Linked DNA regions of Homo sapiens: region 2 is linked to region 1. Evidence: promoter capture Hi-C in 16 types of primary human blood cells and fetal thymus (Javierre and others, 2016). All regions are on one chromosome and are shown on one strand. Each heading gives the region's core, a stretch centred on a gene start or on the middle of the fragment in contact. The rest is flanking DNA. Distances are from core to core; before and after follow the strand shown.

Region 1 (3,259 bases), core at 402-2,901:
GTCTTGCTCTGTCGCCCAGGCTGGAGTAGTACAGTGGGGCGATCTCGGCTCACTGCAAGCTCCACCTCCTGGGTTCACATCATTCTCCTGCCTCAGCCTCCCAAGTAGCGGGGACTACAGGCGTCCGCCACCACGCCCGGCTAATTTTTATATTTTTAGTAGAGACGGGGTTTCACCGTGTTAGCCAGGATGATCTCGATCTCTTGACCTCGTGATCCACCCGCCTCGGCCTCCCAAAGTGCTGGGATTACAGGCATGAGCCACCGTGCCCGGCCTAGGCTTTGCCACTTTCAAGATAGGTAATCTTGCAACAGGGTTGATTGTTTTTTGTTTTAATTTACTCTAAGCCCTACTCCTGATCTGTGATAATAGTGTAGTACAATTTCAAGGGTGGTTGTGAGGATTAAGAGAGATGAACATGGTCGGGCACAGTGGCTCACGCCTGTAATCCCAGCACTTTGGGAGGCCGAGGCGGGTGGATCACGAGGTCAGTTCGAGACCAACCTGACCAATATGGTGAACCCCGTGTCTATGAAAAATACAAAAATTAGCTGGGCATGGTGGCACGCACCTGTAATCCCAGCTACTCAGGAGGCTGAGGCAGGAGAATTGCTTGAACCTGGGAGGTAGAGTTTGCAGTGAGCCAAGATTGTGCCATTGCACTCCAGCCTGGGCAACAGAGCGAGACTCCGCCACAAAAAAAAAAAAAAAAAAAGAGAGAGAGATGAACATTCAAGTCCTAAGCCTTTAGGTCCTCACAATCTATGCTTGCTGAAGTGACCCGAACAAATGCAGATGGAGTGGGGTCGAGTGGGGGAAACGCTTTCTAGGGAGAGGGAACACCACATTCTAAGGCTACACATCCAGAAGGAGCTTGAGCAATCCAGGAAGGGCGCAGGGTGCGGTGGCTGATGGCCGGGGTGGCTGATGGCCTTGAGGACCAGCTAAGAAACTTGGATTATTTACTAACAAAAATAAAAGAGCCACCATTTGTTGAGGGTTTGCTCTGACATTTCCATCAAAACTACCTTAGCAAGGTAGATTTAATAAATCCAGTTGTATACAAAAGGGAAACACGAGAAGCCATAGAAGGGCTGCATACAGGTAGGTGACTTGATCAATTTCGTGTTTTACAAAGATCCCTTAGATCATGTGTTGGAGTGATAGGAGGTACTCTACCGACCTGCCTTGAACTCCATACTTTAAAAAATATATGACGTTTATCATTTCCTCTTTTACTCCACAATTTATACTCACTGTAGAAAATATTAAAAATATAAGAAAGTTTGAAGAAACAAAAAATTATTACTGGTACTTTCCAGAGACATCTCAATTGATACTTTTCTTCCAGTCTTTTTTTTTCTATGTAAAAAATATATAGTTATTAGAATGCCTGACAGAAGGAAGATGGAAAGAGACCACTGTGAAGCGTTCTTGATATTCCCTCTTCCCTTCCTCTCCATGTTATTAGGGCCATACCAAGAGGAGAGGCTGATTTCCCTACACGTGTCAGGGAAAGTCCCAACTCTGCGCAGTGACCCTCGCTTGCCATTTTCGCCGGTCTCTAGGGGGCGCTGCCCCGAGACTGGGTGGGGAGGGAAAGAAGGTGGTGCGAAAACGCGTTTGAACTTGGGTCCTGCCGCTGCCCGTAGCCGGCGTCCCCAACATGGCGGCTCCCCAAGACGTCCACGTCCGGATCTGTAACCAAGAGATTGTCAAATTTGACCTGGAGGTGAAGGCGCTTATTCAGGTACTGATCCCGGGACCCCTGCCGGGCTCCAGCAGCCCTAACCCAAGCTCTGCTGGTCTGTGAGCTTGGCAGTGTCACTCCCGAACTTTCCCCACTTGGTTTCCCAGACCACAGGCTCCGCCCCATGGTCGGCTACCCCCCCGGTCCCCATTTGGTTGTGTCCCGGTGACTGCTGGCCTTGATCCTTTTTCCGGGTGCCGCCGGATCTCCCATCCCCAGAGCACCCCACTGTTCTCCGCCCCTGACTCAGCTACTGCTTCGGGGCTCGGCTTTGCCCCTTCCACCTGCAGCCCTGGTCGTCGCCCCGCCCCTGACTACCTCACAACCTACCTGTCACCCTGCTTGGCCCCGCCCTCTGACGCTGCTTCAGCATCCTCTGGTAGCGTCCGGGAGGCAGCTAGCCCCGCCCCCTGCTGGCCAGCTCTCCTGGCATCCAAGGCCACCTGGCACGGGAGGCACCGGGTGAAACGAATGTAACCTGGACCGTAGTTGTGATTTTATGCTTGAGGAAATCGAGTACGGCGCCAAGGCCTAGGTTAGAAGGCATACCTGGGTCAGTGGCAAAACTGGGACCTGGACTGTGAAAGTCAACCTAGGAATAACACCTTAGAGTGTTACCCCGTTTGAACAGATAGGAAATGAAGTGTTTCGCCTTAAGCCATTTAAGGGTAGAGGTAAAATAAACGAGTGGACTTAGGCAAGAATTGGGAGTGTAGACACGGTTCCATGAGTTCAGCAAAAAGAAACCGAGTTTTAAACCTTGTTTTTGCTTGTTTGTTTTTGTTTTTTTGAGACGGAGTCTCGCTCTGTCGCCCAGGCTGGAGTGCAGTGGCGCGATCTCGACTCGCGGCAAGCTCCGCCTCCCGGGTTCCCGCCATTCTCCTGCCTCAGCCTCCTGAGTAGCTGGGACTACAGGCACCCGCCACCACGCCCGGCTAATTTTTGTGTTTTGCTTAGTAGAGACGGGGTTTCACCGTGTTAGCCAGGATGGTCTCGATCTCCTGACCTCGTGATCCGCCCGCCTCGGCCTCCCAAATTGCTGGGATTACAGGCGTGAGCCACCGCGCCCGGCCTAAACCTTGGTTTTTAAAAATAATCATTTTCAACAAAGTCACTAAACATTAGATGTAGACTCAGAGTTTGTAACAAGGTGTGGCAAAAAGTGCAGGAAAATAGGGCTCCCCAGATAAACCAGATGCAGAATAAACCAAATTAGATGCAGAATAAACAAATACGGTGCAAAGAAGTGTGATTAAATGAATAAGCCAGAGAAAAAGTGAAATTTGATGCAGATATTTAAAACTTCTTGAACTTCACTTCTCTGATGTATACATTACAAAACTTCTGGGCCAATTATAGAAAAATAAACAGGTTTCATACAAATGAAATTACATTTTCACATAATCTAAATTGCTTAGGCATTCTTCTGTACTCTTTCTAACATTTGGGTTCTTGTCATTGCTGATGAGAAAGACTGATTATAGCTGGATGTATTGCGTTCTTACCGTT
Region 2 (3,259 bases), core at 283-2,782, 84 kb before region 1:
GTCGCCCAGGCTGGAGAGCAGTGGCCAGATCTCGACTCACTGCAAGCTCCGCCTCCCGGGTTCACGCCATTCTCCTGCCTCAGCCTCCGGAGTAGCTGGGACTACAGGCGCCCGCCATCACGCCCGGCTAATTTTTTTTGTATTTTTAGTAGAGACGGGGTTTCACCATGTTAGCCAGGACGGTCTCGATCTCCTGACTTCGTGATCCGCCCCCCTCGGCCTCCCAAAGTGCTGGGATTACAGGCGTGAGCCACCGCGCCCAGCCTCTTTTTTTTTTTTTTTTTTTTTTTTTTTAAGACGGAGTCTCCGTCTGTCGCCCAGGCTGGAGTGCAATGGCACGATCTCGGCTCACTGCAACCTCCGCCTGCCGGGTTCTAGCAATTCTCCTGCCTCAGCCTCCCGAGTAGCTGCGACTACAGGCGCGTGCCACCATGCCTGGCTAATTTTTTGTGTTTTTAATAGAGACGGGGTTTCACCACGTGCTGGTCAGGCTGGTCTCGAACTTCTGGCTTTAGGTGATCCACCCACCTCAGCTTCCAAAGTTCTGGGATTACAGGTGTGAGCTACTGCGCCCGGCCTGATTCATCAATTTTTGTAGTACTTTGGCATGACTGACTCAGTTCTGTTAATAATGATACATAAAAACGTAATCCCTGATTATTTGATAAACTTGAATTCTTACGTATAACTTTTGCAGTAAATAAGGGTATTAGCTTATTTATCAGTTCTTCTTTTTCTTTTTTTTCTTTTTTTTTTTTTTTTGAGACGGAGTTTCGCCCTTGTCGCCCAGGCTGGAGTGCAGTGGGAAGATCTCGGCTCACTGCAATCTCCGCCTCCCGGGTTCAAGCAATTCTCCTGCCTGAGCCTCCTGAGTAGCTGGGATTACAGGCGCCCACCACCACGCCCGGCTAATTTTGTATTTTTAGTAGAGACGGGGTTTCACCATGTTGGCCAGACTGGTCTTGAACTCCTGACCTAAGGTGATCTGCCTGCCTTGGCCTCCCAAAGTGCTGGGATTACAGGCGTGAGCCACCGCGCCTGGCCTATCAATTCTTATTTTATCAGGTGGCATTGTGTTGCTTTTGGAACCCTAGCCCTTACAATGCCCTAATTAGTTTAACAGAGAAGTATAGTGAAAATAAAAATAAACACTTTTCATTGATACTTAGAATATTCCAGGCAGTTTTCACTGTTGCATCGGTTGATAAAGTCAATCAGCATTGCTTATATAATGCTCTCTTATTCTAAGAATGGCAAATAGATGCAATAGAACTTATTTGGGTATAATTCCTTCATATGACTGGTATATCAGCTTTGGGTTTTTTATATTCATAAGCATAGAAGAGGCTAAATAGCTCCCGAAGAGAGTCTGGATGCTCCATTTACCATCATTCTCTGTCATGGCAGGTGAAAGCAAGCTTTTATATAGACAATGTTCTACTTAGTTTACAGGGTGTCTACTTAGTTTACAGGGTGGATGTGTGTGGGTTCTGGGATACTAGTGTAAGAAGTAAAGGAATAACTAGCATGGTTCCTGGTGGTGGTTAAATACAAGTGACAGTGAAGTACAGTAAGTTTGTGTGTTGATTCTGTTAATATAACTCAGTTTTTAAAAGATAAAGAGAACTGAAATCACTGTTTGCTTTTAAAGCTTAATTTTCAGTCAAGATCGGCATCTATATATTTATTTAAAAAATACATATATATATATATGTTTTTTTTTTTTTTTGAGACGGAGTCTAACTGCGTTGCCCAGGTTGGAGTCCGGTGGCGTGATCCTGGCGCACTGCAACCTCCGTTTCCTGGGTTCAAGCGATTATCCTGCCCCAGCCTCCCGAGTAGCTAGGATTACAGGCGTGCACCGCTATGCTCAGCTAATTTTTGTATTTTCAGTAGAGACAAGGTTTCACCAAGTTGGCCAGGCTGGTCTTGAACTCCTAATCTTAAATGATCCGCCCGCATTGGCCTCCCAAAGAGCTGGGATTACAGGTATGAGCCACCGTGCCCCCTCTAGTTATGTGATTTTGAAATGAATTAGCAGTCGCTTGTTTCCAAGTAGGGTTGAACTTGGATTTTTTTGAGGAACAATTCACTGACACTTTCACCATATTCAGTAGCTCATTTCGGGATAGGTAAACTCTTAGACGAGACATAAATTTGTCAGATAATTGGTTCTGATTATTTTAAGACAAGGGTTGACAGACTTTTTTTTTTTTTTTGGAACAGGATCAAATAGTTAATATTTAGGCTTTTTCAGCCTTCCAGTCTCTGCCACAACTACTCAACTTTGAATCTGTAGCATGGAAACAGCTGTAGAAAATATGTTCTACATATTTTTGGGCTCTATTCCAATAAAACTTTATTTACAAGGTCAGGCTGTGCCTCTATTTGTGCTTCCACGGCTATAGTTTGTCAGCCCCTGTTGTAAGACATCAGTCATTGAGGTTTTTTGTTTGTTCGTTTTTTGAGACAGAGTCTAGTTCTGTCCCCCCTGCTGGAGTGCAGTGGCACGATCTCGGCTCACTGCAACCTCCGCCTCCCGGGTTTAAGCGATTCTCCTGCCTCAGCCTTCTGAGTAGCTGGGATTACAGGCGCCTGCCACCGTGCCCAGCCAAGTTTTGTATTTTTAGTAGAGACGGGGTTTCACTGTGTTGGCCAGGCTGGTCTCAATCTCCTGACCTCCTGATCTGCCCGCCTCAGCCTCCCAACGTGCTGGGATTACAGGCGTGAACCACCACATCTGGCCCAGTCACTGAGTTTTAAGTACTTAGATGTTAAGGTATTTCAGAATATACAAATAGACACTTTAGGTACATTTGAGCATTTGCAGATTGTACAGTCTCCTGCCTTGAAGAGAATTTTTAGTACAAGAGCATATGGCAACATTGTATTTTGTATTTTTCCTTCGTTTACATATAAATGTTTTCTTGAAAAGCTGTTTAAAGCAAATATTGGTATAAATCCTGTTGATTTTAGAGATGCAGTCTGATTGAAAAAACTTTGGCCCTAAGATATATTCAGGATATGGTCCTCTTGAAGTTTCAAAGCACATTTAGCATATAATCCTTAACAAAGCTGTATAGCTGTTTCAAGAGATGATAGTCACGTGAATAGTCAACACATGTAGTTCTTATATTCAAATATGCAGTTAATTTAGAAGTTAAGACATTGAGTGCTCATTGCCTGAGATGCTTGAAGAATTAAAGAGAGTAGGATGCTTTTTCCAGGCCCAAAAAGATACAGGTTACCTCCTCTCTTT

What was found. The method cuts DNA at HindIII sites, captures the fragments that hold promoters and counts their contacts. A CHiCAGO score of 5 or more calls a contact.
Region 2: a fragment that was not itself captured here is called in contact with the fragment with the promoter of BNIP1 in region 1 in 5 of 17 cell types (naive CD4 T cells, naive CD8 T cells, total CD8 T cells and 2 more); the score reaches 7.8 in naive CD4 T cells.

Annotation. Positions count from the first base shown.
Region 1 is chr5:173,142,880-173,146,138 of GRCh38, forward strand. BNIP1 (BCL2 interacting protein 1) reads left to right here and starts at 1,652. Exons shown (of 6, transcript NM_001205.3): 1 at 1,652-1,750. The coding sequence starts at 1,667. RefSeq lists enhancers at 1,845-2,373, 2,315-2,384. The HindIII fragment of the contact is 7,780 bases long and covers 1-3,259 here.
Region 2 is chr5:173,058,520-173,061,778 of GRCh38, forward strand. All of the region lies in intron 1 of CREBRF (CREB3 regulatory factor), which reads left to right. Among named protein-coding and RNA genes, the nearest start is that of CREBRF, 3.8 kb to the left of the region's middle. The HindIII fragment of the contact is 233 bases long and covers 1,417-1,649 here.